Regions from separate parts of the Homo sapiens genome. Here all the other regions are linked to region 1. The links are contacts of gene promoters, found by promoter capture Hi-C in human tissues and cell types (Jung and others, 2019). All regions are on one chromosome and are shown on one strand. The core of a region is centred on a gene start or on the middle of the fragment in contact, and the rest is flanking DNA. Distances in the headings are between cores, read along the strand shown. Region 1 holds the start of VPS33B (VPS33B late endosome and lysosome associated). Region 2 overlaps SLCO3A1 (solute carrier organic anion transporter family member 3A1). Region 3 overlaps SLCO3A1 (solute carrier organic anion transporter family member 3A1).

What was found. Contacts are between HindIII fragments. The study calls those that stand out against the background at their distance.
Region 2: a fragment that was not itself captured here is called in contact with the fragment with the promoter of VPS33B in region 1 in 1 of the 25 tissues and cell types used here (aorta).
Region 3: a contact is called between a fragment that was not itself captured here and the fragment with the promoter of VPS33B in region 1, in 1 of the 25 tissues and cell types used here (heart left ventricle).

Annotation. Positions count from the first base shown.
Region 1 is chr15:91,021,246-91,024,713 of GRCh38, forward strand. VPS33B (VPS33B late endosome and lysosome associated) reads right to left here and starts at 1,349. Exons shown (of 23, transcript NM_018668.5): 1 at 909-1,349. The coding sequence starts at 1,004. It overlaps VPS33B-DT (VPS33B divergent transcript), which reads left to right and starts at 1,377. Exons shown (of 4, transcript NR_110104.1): 1 at 1,377-1,495; 2 at 2,068-2,726. RefSeq lists enhancers at 433-1,049, 904-1,313. The HindIII fragment of the contact is 30,515 bases long and covers 1-3,468 here.
Region 2 is chr15:92,049,515-92,052,906 of GRCh38, forward strand. The region is part of intron 2 of SLCO3A1 (solute carrier organic anion transporter family member 3A1); the gene reads left to right. Among named protein-coding and RNA genes, the nearest start is that of SLCO3A1, 200 kb to the left of the region's middle. The HindIII fragment of the contact is 8,153 bases long and covers 1-3,392 here.
Region 3 is chr15:92,083,356-92,086,875 of GRCh38, forward strand. The region is part of intron 2 of SLCO3A1 (solute carrier organic anion transporter family member 3A1); the gene reads left to right. Among named protein-coding and RNA genes, the nearest start is that of SLCO3A1, 230 kb to the left of the region's middle. The HindIII fragment of the contact is 4,745 bases long and covers 1-3,520 here.

The sequences.
Region 1 (3,468 bases), core at 99-2,598:
GACATAAAATGAATAACTAAATGATTACACAAGTAATCCATTAAAATCACAGTGGCAGTATTATTTTCCTAATAACCCAGGTTAAAAATCTCACTCATTTTTGCTTCTCCTTCAACATTTATAACCAATCAGTAAGTCTTTGAGTTTTCTTTCACCATAACTTAAAAATCCATCACTTTCCTTCATTCCCACTGCTACCAATTTTGTGTGGGCCTTTATTTCTTGTCTGATCTACGGTCTCCTAACTGGCCTTCTTGTTGCCCATTTACGCCACCACACACATCACTATTAGAATCATCAAGTATTGTCTCATGCCACAAATGGAAAAAAAATTTTTTTCAGTGGCTACTGTGTAACTGCTGATGGGTGTCTTCCCTTACATGCCTTGTCTTTCCCTGGTTTGCCAACTTTGCTCCTACCAATCTATCTGCCTGGAGCATGCTTAGTCTCCAAAGAAAATATGCTTATTACTCACACTCACTTCCTTGAAGCTCCTAGATCATCACCCCAACTAGAAATGATCACTTACTGTGAACTCTTCGGGTACACTAGCTCTATCACTCATTTACCACCTGTGTGTGATAATTTGTGCTTCATACAGCTCCTACTGGAGTGGTAAGATCCCTAATGGCAAAGATGTCTTAACCATCTTTCCGTCCCTAGGGATGCCTGGCACTAATGGTGTCTCCCTTGCCTGTATGCGGGGTTGGGGGGTGATTTCCATTAACTCTCTGGCCAGGTTCCAAACAGCTCTTACTACTCCCTGGATTCATTCTGGACCTGCTGGGGAAGCGCCAAGGACAATACCAGGGGCCAAGAACAAGATCAAAGGGGCACGGCAAGGAAGAAATGTGCATCCAATGAGTGCTAAACTGTAGATGCGATAAAGGCGTCAGGCAAGCACTGACCTGCTCCAGCAGATAGATGAGCTGGTCTCGAGCCAGCCTCTTCAGCATGGAGAAGTCAGGCAGCTCAGGGGCGTCCGGCCGATGGGGAAAAGCCATGGCAGCGGTCACCTGCGCCGCGGGGTGGAAGGACGCCCTTCGTTCTGAGAAGGCCGGCCGCAGCCCAGGGAAGCGCAAGGGGGGCTATCCTTCAGGCCTGGGCACCGACTTCCAGAGACCCCAGATGGGCCCTCGCTCCTCAGCAGCACTCCAGGAATGAATGGCCACCTCCAGGCAAGAGAGCTACTACCTCGGAGCAGCCTTGTCTCAGACCTGCAGCCACCGTGTCTCGACCCTCCCTCCCTGATCCACTCTGCCCGTCAGCAGGATTCCGGTCTACACCCCGCAGAGACTCCGCAGCGTACGAGGAGAACCCCGCCTTCTACCAGAAAAAGAAGCGACTTCCTAGATCTCCCGGAAGTCCCTTTCGCTCCCAGCGCTTCGCGTACCAGGAAGGGGACGGCGTCCTGAAAGGGACATTTGAAAAACGGAGGCAACGCGTCTATTAATTAGGTGGCGGCGCCTGGGGTCGCAGCACTCCAGAGGCTGAGGTGGGAGAATCGCTCGAGTCAGGGAGGCGGAGGTTGCAGTGAACTGCGATCGCGCTACTGCACCCCAGCCTGGGCAACAAAGCTAGACCTTGCCTCAAAAAAAAAAAAAAAAAAAAAAAAAAAGACATAATGAATGCATCAGGCTAGCTAACAATACCTCAACTCTGATCAATCATACCATCATATCATTTCCTGGTGAGATGCATAGGAAATACAGAGCATCACCTATTGCCAAAAATTGAACCTAATCAAGCCTCAAGATCTAACTACCAGTTTATAGGCTATATAGAGATTAGCAGGAATATGTTAAGACACCAAAGGTATGAAATCAACCATATCCAAAATGTAGGAAATTATATGGGACAAATGATCTGTCGTCTTCAAAAAAATGGCAAAGTGGGAAATGTGGGAGGGGAAAACACTTCAGAATAAAAGAGATTTAAGAGATGTATCAACAAAATGTTTCAATGTGTGGATCTTTTTTGGATAATAATTCAAAGATAACTGATTTAAGGAATTACTAAAACTTTTCGGGTATTGTATTTCTTTTCTTCTCTTTTTTTTCCTGACAGAGTCTCGCCCTTTTGCCTAGTGGAGGAGCTCGGCTCACTGCAAGCTCCGCGCCACAACCCCCCTGCCGCCCCAGGTTCAAGAGATTCTCCTGCCTCAGTCTCCCGAGTAGACTGGGATTACAGGCGAGTGCCACCATGCCCGGCTAATTTTTGTATTTTTGGTAGAGACGGGGTTTCATTATGTTGGCCAGGCTGATCTCGAACTCCTGACCTCAAGTGATCCGCCTGCCTTGGCCTCCCAAAGTGCTGGGATTACAGGCGTGAGCCACAACGTTGGGCCAGGTATTGTATTTCTATGTTATTATTATTTTTTGTATTTCTATGTCATACAGGCTTGTATTTCTGTTAAAAACAAGTCCTTATCTCTTTGAGATACATACTGAAGTTTTTACAGGTGAAATAATTTGGCCAGGAGTAATGGTTCATGTCTCTAATTCCCACCACTTTGGGAGGTCCAGGTCGGGGTCGGGGGGTTGCTTGAGGCCAGGAGTTTGAGATAAGATTGGTCAACTACAACACATAAAAAATAGCCAGGCATGGTGGTGGGCACCTTTAATCTCGATACTTGGGAGGCTGAGGCAGGAGGATCACTTGAGCCCAGGAGTTTGAGGCTGCAGTGCGCTACGATCATGCTACAGCACCCCAGCCTGGGCAACAGAGTGAGACACCGTTTGTTTTTTCTTTTCTTTTTTTTTTTTTGAGACAAGGTCTGGCTTTATCTATCACCCAGGCTGGAGTGCAGTGATATGTTCTGTCTCTTTTTTTTTTGAGATGGAGTTTCGCTCTTGTTGCTCAGGCTGGAGTGCAATGGCACGATCTCAGCTCACTGCAACCTCCACCTCCCAGGTTCAAGCGTTTCTCCTGCTGCAGCCTCCTGAGTAGCTGGGATTACAGGCATGTGCCACGCACCCAGCTAATTTTGTATTTTTAGTAGAGACAGAGTTTCTCCATGTTGGTCAGGCTGGTCTTGAACTCCTGACCTCAGGTGATCTTCCCGCCTCAGTCTCCCAAAATGCTGGGATTGTAGGCATGAGCCGCCATGCCTGGCCCGATCTGTCTCTTAAAAAATAAAAAAAAAAACTAAAATATGTTTGGGATTTGCTTTAAAATAACCCAGGGGGAGATGTAGGAACATTCAGGAAAAAGATTGGGCCAGGCACGGTGGCTCACGCCTGTGAACCCAGACCGAGGCAGGTGGATTGCTTGAGCCCAGGAGTTCAAGACCAGCCTAGGCAACACAGTAAGACCCCCATGTCTATAAAAAAATTAAAAAATGATTGGCCATTTGTTAATTGTTAAAGCTGATGGGTACATGGGGGTTTATTGCATTTTAGTATTCTACGTCTTTATTTAGAGATGGAGTGTTGCTCTGTTGCCCAGGTTGGAGTGCAGAGGTATAGT
Region 2 (3,392 bases), core at 89-2,588, 1.0 Mb after region 1:
CAAAGATTTTACCAACCAGTGCCTAGGCCACAGCATCCTACAAAGTGAAACCACTGGAGATGTGGGCAGACACATCTGTTTCTTCCATTTAGCAAACAAGTGGAGCTAGATCAGCCCCCCAGAAATCGATCTTTACCAAGACTTAATGAAGAGTTAGCTAGTTAATAGCCCATGACAAATCCAAACGCTGTTAGAGGTCTGACAACCTAGATATTAACAGCAGCAGTGGCCAGTTTCCAAGAGATTACTGACATTTAGGGCCATTCAGGAAGACATCTGGGAGGAAATAGTCATGGAATTGTTTAAGGCCCAGCTAGGGAGGCGGGGAGGAAAAGAAGACTCGACAGCTTTGTAATGTACAGTGACACTGGCACCTCTTAGCAAGAGCACAAGTTGCTCGTGAGCTTTTTAATCACAGAAGAGTTCAGAACCTGAAGGAGCAGCAAATGTCAGCGGAATTTCTTCCAGCTTAAAATGAATCCAGCAGGCCCCTAGATGCCCAGAACCCTAGTGCTGTCTGAGATGTTTCCAGGGGTCATTGCCTCATGACCGGGTGACCAATAGTCAATGCTCCTGATCACTAAGCTGCACACTTAGGTGACTGTCACAAACAAATAAGCATGGCCTTTAGCTTCTGGTCTTGTGGACTTTTTCTGGTGATGCTGCCTCTGCTCTCTGCTTCGAAGGTGTTAGCACCTGTGGCCTTTTCAGTGCCTTCAGCAGGTGTGGATAGTGCACCTCTGTGGGCTGGGCACTCTGCCCTTGAGGAGTCGCCAGCCACAGAGGGATGGCTTGTTTGAGACCAGGCAGATGACAAGGCAATTTATTGCAAGCTTTAAGAAGAGTGGAAACAAACACACCTAGGGAACACATTTTCAGACTTGTCTGAGCAGATGCGATGTTGTCACAGAGTCCCTGCACACGGAGGCACGGTGCCACCATCCAGAGATTCAGGAAATGCCTCCTGCTCTCTGGGAATGCACACTGGTATGGTCGGAAGTGGATACAAGCCCTTGCCCTCATTACCCACATCTTACGTGTCAGTAAATGCTCTCAGCTCTGTCTCCAAATTACACCCCAACCCATTACATCTCTATCTTCTGTCCACTGTGCTAGTCCTGGCCACTATCACTACCACCAACCATATCATGTGTCCACTCTGTAAGCCATTACTCACTCAGCAACCAGAATCATCTTTTAGGTCACGTCCCTGCTTAAAATGTTTTGGTGGCTTCCTGTTCCACATAGGATAGAACCCTGACTGCTTATCACAACTGGGAGAGCCTGCCTTCCTCTTCAGCCTGTGTCTTGCTATGCTGTTACGGCTCGGGATGATGTAGCCTCCTGGCCCCTCTTGCTATTCCTCACATCCATCAAACTCACTCCCACTTAAGACTTTCACGCATGCTTTTCCCTCCACAGGTGACACTCAGCCTTCAGACATAGTCTTCTTGTCTCTCAGGCCCCAGCCCAAATCCACCTTCTTAGAGCAGACTTCTCTGACCCATCCAAAGTTGCCTTCTGCCCCACGTCACTCTGTCACATACACCTGTTGTGTTTTCTCCATAGTATTATTACCTACAATTTTCTTGTGTTTTTCTCTTACTATGATAGAGGTGCAAATAATCAGGGGAATTAAGTAAGGCATATAGTATGCTCAGGGTCCACAGTGAGGTGAAGGCTTCAGGGCAGTGGTAACATTTGAGCTGGAACTTGAAACAGGTGTGATTTGCCAGGTCAAGAGGTGGATGGAGAGATTTCATCAGAGGCAACAGCATGTGTGAGGGCCCAGAGGCTAGGGAATGTGTCACCCTTAGGGAACAGCTTTGGGACAGCATCCCTGTAGCCTGGACTGCATAGGAAGGCAGAGCAAGAGTGGCTGGGGGCATTTAGACTTCATCTTGTGGGCAGTTGGAATCATCAGTGCACAGGGAGGGATTCACTAGACCTCATGGATTTGCTCAATGGAACCAAATAGGGTTTGAAAGTGTAATTGAGGGGTTTTTTGATTTGGAATATTTTTATTCCAATTTTATTAGGAGCCAAGCCTGGAGAGGGAGGGAGAGTGTGCTAAGACCAGGAGCTTCAGTTTGGAGTACGAATCAAGGAGGGGCTTTGGAGCATGAGAGCTTGTCTTCTGATCCCATCGTGAAATGAACAGCTACGTGACCGTCTTGTGTGTGCTAGGTTCGTGCTTGTATCTGAGAGATGAGAAATGGCAGAAGGAACAGCCGTGAAATCAGCAGATTAACTCTTCAAAGAAGACACTTACATTTTCCATTGATGGCCTCCTCCCTCTCCTTTTAGTTCAAGCTGGACAGAAACAAAAGTGCTGCGTGATGAGGGTTAGATGCTCTTTGTAATTCTACAGCAATGAGTCTTCTTTTTAAAACACCCAGATGTCAGTACTATTTTGGGCAGATGTACTGGGGAGCAGTTGGTGATGACCTCACGAGGCTGTGACTTTAAAGACCAAATGACACAGCTTTTGAGTAAAGCAGGCTCCGGTCTCCTAATCCCCGGGCTCCAGGGTTCTCGAATTCAGAGCAAAAGTGGTACTCCACACTGCCCGTGTCCCTGCTCATCGCCATATCCCCAACCCCTCCTTGCCCCAAGCTGCTGAGTGTGCACAGAACTTGTGTGGTTGGTCTGGGGCTCTAAGACAAGTTTCCTTGGACAGACAGCCTGTACTCAGCTGGGTGTCCATGCTCCTGTCATCCACCTTGAGATGGGGTCAGCATTGTATCAAGTTCTCTCTCTCCACTTTGAGCCTCTGTTCCCTTATCTCAGGAAAGAGGGTGAGCAATACCTACCTGGAGACACTGGAAGACAGATTGGCCTTTTGCATTCTGTAAGGGATCATATGAATGTTCATTATTATGACTTCTGGCTTCCAGAGCATAAATCCTAGACTCACCTGGGTAAGAACTAGATAGGACCTCAGGGTTCATCCAGTCCAAATGCCAGGCTAGGGAAAGAGTTCTTTCTCAGCAGTTTCCAGCAAGCAGTGACCAGCCTCAGATTGGATACCTTCAGTCACAGGGAGATCGCTCTTCCCAAGGTTCTTTATTCCAGCCACATATACACAGGATTCAGTGTTAAAATGCATTCCCTTATATGCAGCCTGGCTCCATGTAATTTCCAAGTTCTTGTCTTTCCCTCTAGAGCTGTGCTGTCCCAGATAGTAGCCACTCTGCATGTGGCTGCTGAGCACTTGAAATGTGGCCAGTCCACACTGAGATGTACTACAAATGTAAAATTTATACATAGGCATAAGTACATTTTATATTTATATAAATACATTTTAATTTTTTTTTTCCTTTTACAGGTTGAAAGGATAATATTTTGGCTACGTTAAGTTAAATAAAATGTTGTTAGAATCAATTTTACCT
Region 3 (3,520 bases), core at 890-3,389, 1.1 Mb after region 1:
AGGACTGACTGTCATGTGAGATCTCACTGTCCTCAGGTGCCCTCCCTTCCCACGTTCAGGAAGGGATCTGAGCAGAGGTTTGAGTGCAGGGCAGCGTGACTCCTGGGTACAGTAGGTTCTCCCTTCACCACTCTCCCAAGGACAGCTGAGAAGTGCCTGGTCCTTGCAGTTCCGTTCTATCAGCACCTGAAATTCTATTGCAATAGATAATTGTATTCTTCAGAAGTATGTTCTTCAGAGAATCGTATTTGTCTCTAAGCTTTCTGTCATTAGGAGAACTGTGTTGGGATTTATTAAAAATTACTCATAAGAAATAAGCCTTGTGCATAGAAACAGACGAGAAGGGAAGATCTAAATGCATGTCAGTGTTTCTGGGTGGTGAGAGATGGTGATTTGTGCTGTCATCTTTGTAATAATGATTGCTAAAATTTATTGAGCACTTACTGTATGCCAGGCGCTGTGGAAAGCCCTTGTGAGGCACTAATCACCCAAACCTCAAAACAATCCTGCGAGGTGGGTACTGTTAACCTCACTCACAGGTGAGAGTATGGAGGGCCAGAGTAGGTAAGTACCTTTGTCAAGGTCACACAGCCAGTGACTGCAGACCCTGGCCATGCAGCTCTAGGGTCTGTGTTCTTGGCCACTGTGTTATTCTGCCTCTCTACGCTTGGTTTATCCTCAGTCATCCTTAATGAGCATGTGCTGCTTTTAAAATGAAGAAAAGGGGTTTTGTTTGTAAATTAACTTACATGGTTCCAGGAATGATAAACGCATATGAAGAAAGACAGTACAAATATAATAATGCCTAAAGGGAAATATGAGAACGATGCTAATCCTTTACATGATCCTGTATTTTCCACATTCTCTAAAAAAAGCAGAGTTTACCTAAGTGATTTAAAACGTCATAAAAAAAGAAAATCCTGCTGTTAGAGGCACCAGTAAGAAGAACAAATAACAGCTGATGGTTTTTGAGAATGTCTGTGTTCCAGGAATTGATCAGAAGCATTCTGTGCACTACGTATTTGACCCTCAATAACCCCTTAGGAGGTAGGGATTGTTGTCATCCCATTTTACAGAGGAGGAAACTGAGGCCGAGGGAGCATTTGTACCATGCTCACAGACACACCAGTACAGCAGAGCCTTGACACCGATCCTCCCTCAAGGTCAGTAGTACCTCTCTGTCCTTTTCCACCCCAGGAGACCTTGAGGGTCAGAAACACGAATGGGTGCATCTAATTGCAAAGTGAGTAGGGGAGCTGATAGCAGTCCCTGGGTTTCTGGATGGCCTGTTTGGCTTTGCTCTCAGGGGCATAAAGAGTTTATGCCAGCAGGTAGCAGATGCCTGCAGCTCCTCGGGCAGCCTGTGCTCCTCTCACCCAGCCCCACAGGCTGTTCAACGCAGGAGCCATGCCCCATGCTACACTTTGACAAAGAGAAAAATAAAGGTTCACATGGAAGGGTCAACATTTTTCTCAAACAATGCAGCATGCACCACCATAGCCAGCCAGTGATAGTATCTCTTCCAAGAGCAGGCCTTCCAGTGAGCCTGCAGAAGCCGCAGGGCCAGGCGGAAGGAGGGAGAACAAGAATGGGTGCCATGGAGTCTTCCTCTTGGAGCATCAGTGGAAACTGATGTTTATGAAGTGCTTCATCTGTGCCAGGGCTGGGCCCCCACCATTGCTTTCATTTATTACTCACCACAGCCCTATAAAATGTCTTAGTAGCACACTACTTTTCAGATGCAGCAAACCAGCATAGAGAGGCTGAGGGGGCTCCCCAGGTTTCCAGGCAGTTAAGTTGGTAGTACTTGGACGCACATCCAGTCCAGCTGTAGAACCCACTCTGAATCCCACCCCACCTGCCCTCTGAAGGGCAACTGGGCTTCCCTGCTGTAAGTTTTGATTTCAGAGTAGCCGTGTGCCTGCATCTGAATGGACTCCTCGATTCAAGGAGCTGCCTTTGAATAGCAAAGTTTAGTTGTTTTTGTTCTTCAACCCTGTCTATTTGCACGTGAGCTAACTGGGGACCCAGTTTTGCGTAGGCATATTGTGGTTAAGCTGCTGCCTGGAAGCCAAGTGCCCCGGGGCGAGCTGCTTAAGTGGGCCTCATGCCTTCTTGGATGAAACTGGGATGGTAGCACCCAACCCATTGCCTAGTTGGGAGTAATCCTGAGGTAACATTGGTGAATCACATAGTCCAACTGGCGTCACACAGCAGGCACTCAAATAGCCATTTGTGTGTATGTACTTATATCACGCATGTGCATACGTGTGTATTAAAAATATTAAAATCACGTTTTCTTGCCTGAAACGTAGATACACAGCTTACACGTTGTTGTGAAATAAATACCCATGAAGTCTATAAACAAATCAACCACAAAACTAGCATTGGAGAATCTCCTCCCCACCTGTCCCCAAGGACCCTCCCTTCCCCCGACAGTAACCACAGTCCTGACTTCTGTAATAGTCCTTTCCCTGGTGTTCTTTATAGTTTGACTCCCTGTCATTAAAGAGTTAACTTTGCTGTTTGGAATCCTGCATAAGTAGACTCACACCAGGACGTGTTCTTTCAACTTCAACCATGTCATTGATGATCACCTATAGATGATCTGTTTTCTTTGCTGTAGAGTAACTCCAGAGTACGGGAGATCACAGTATGTTTTTCTGTTCTACCATGGTTGGGCATTTGGGATAGTTTCCAGTTGGGAAATCTTACAAACAATGCTGGTGTGCGCATTCTTGGATGCTTCTCCAAGAATGTGCAGTCCGTCAGCACACTTGCTGTGGGGTGTTTACCAAGGACTCAGAATTGTGCATCATTGGATTAGTTTATCTTCACTTTTTCAGACACTGCCAAGTTTTGCCAAGGTGTTGTCCAATTTACACTCCTACCAGCAGTGTAGGAGAGCTTCAGATCCTTGCCAACACTTGGTAGTGTCAGACTCTTTAACCAGCTGAAACACACTCGTATTTAATTGGGGTCTAAATTTATAATTCTCTGAATTCTAATGAGACTGACCATTTTCTTATATCTTATTGTTCATTTGGATTTCCTGTTTTTTGAAATGCCTATTAAGGTTTCTGTCGATTTTTCTCCTGGTTTTTTTCTTTCTCATCAATTTATAGTAGTTTTTATATAGTCTACATATGAACTCCTTGATTCTTACATGTATTATAAAAATATATGTGTTGCACATGTATTTTCCCACATTTTCACATTCTTGGTGAACTCTTCTGATAAATCAGCTTCACTCTGATAATGAAGTTGTTAATTGTAATGTAGTCCAGTCTTTTCTTTCAATAGCTAGTGTTTTTTAAGTTTGTTTTAAGAAATCTTTCAGCCGGGCGCAGTGGCTCATGCCTGTAATCCTAGCACTTTGGGAGGCCAAGGTGGGTGGATCACCTGAGGTCAAAAGTTCAGGACCAGCCTGGTCAACATGGTGAAACCCCGTCTCTACTAAAAATACAAAAATTAGCCAGGCATGGTGCCACACGCCTGTAATCCCAGCTACTCAAGAGGC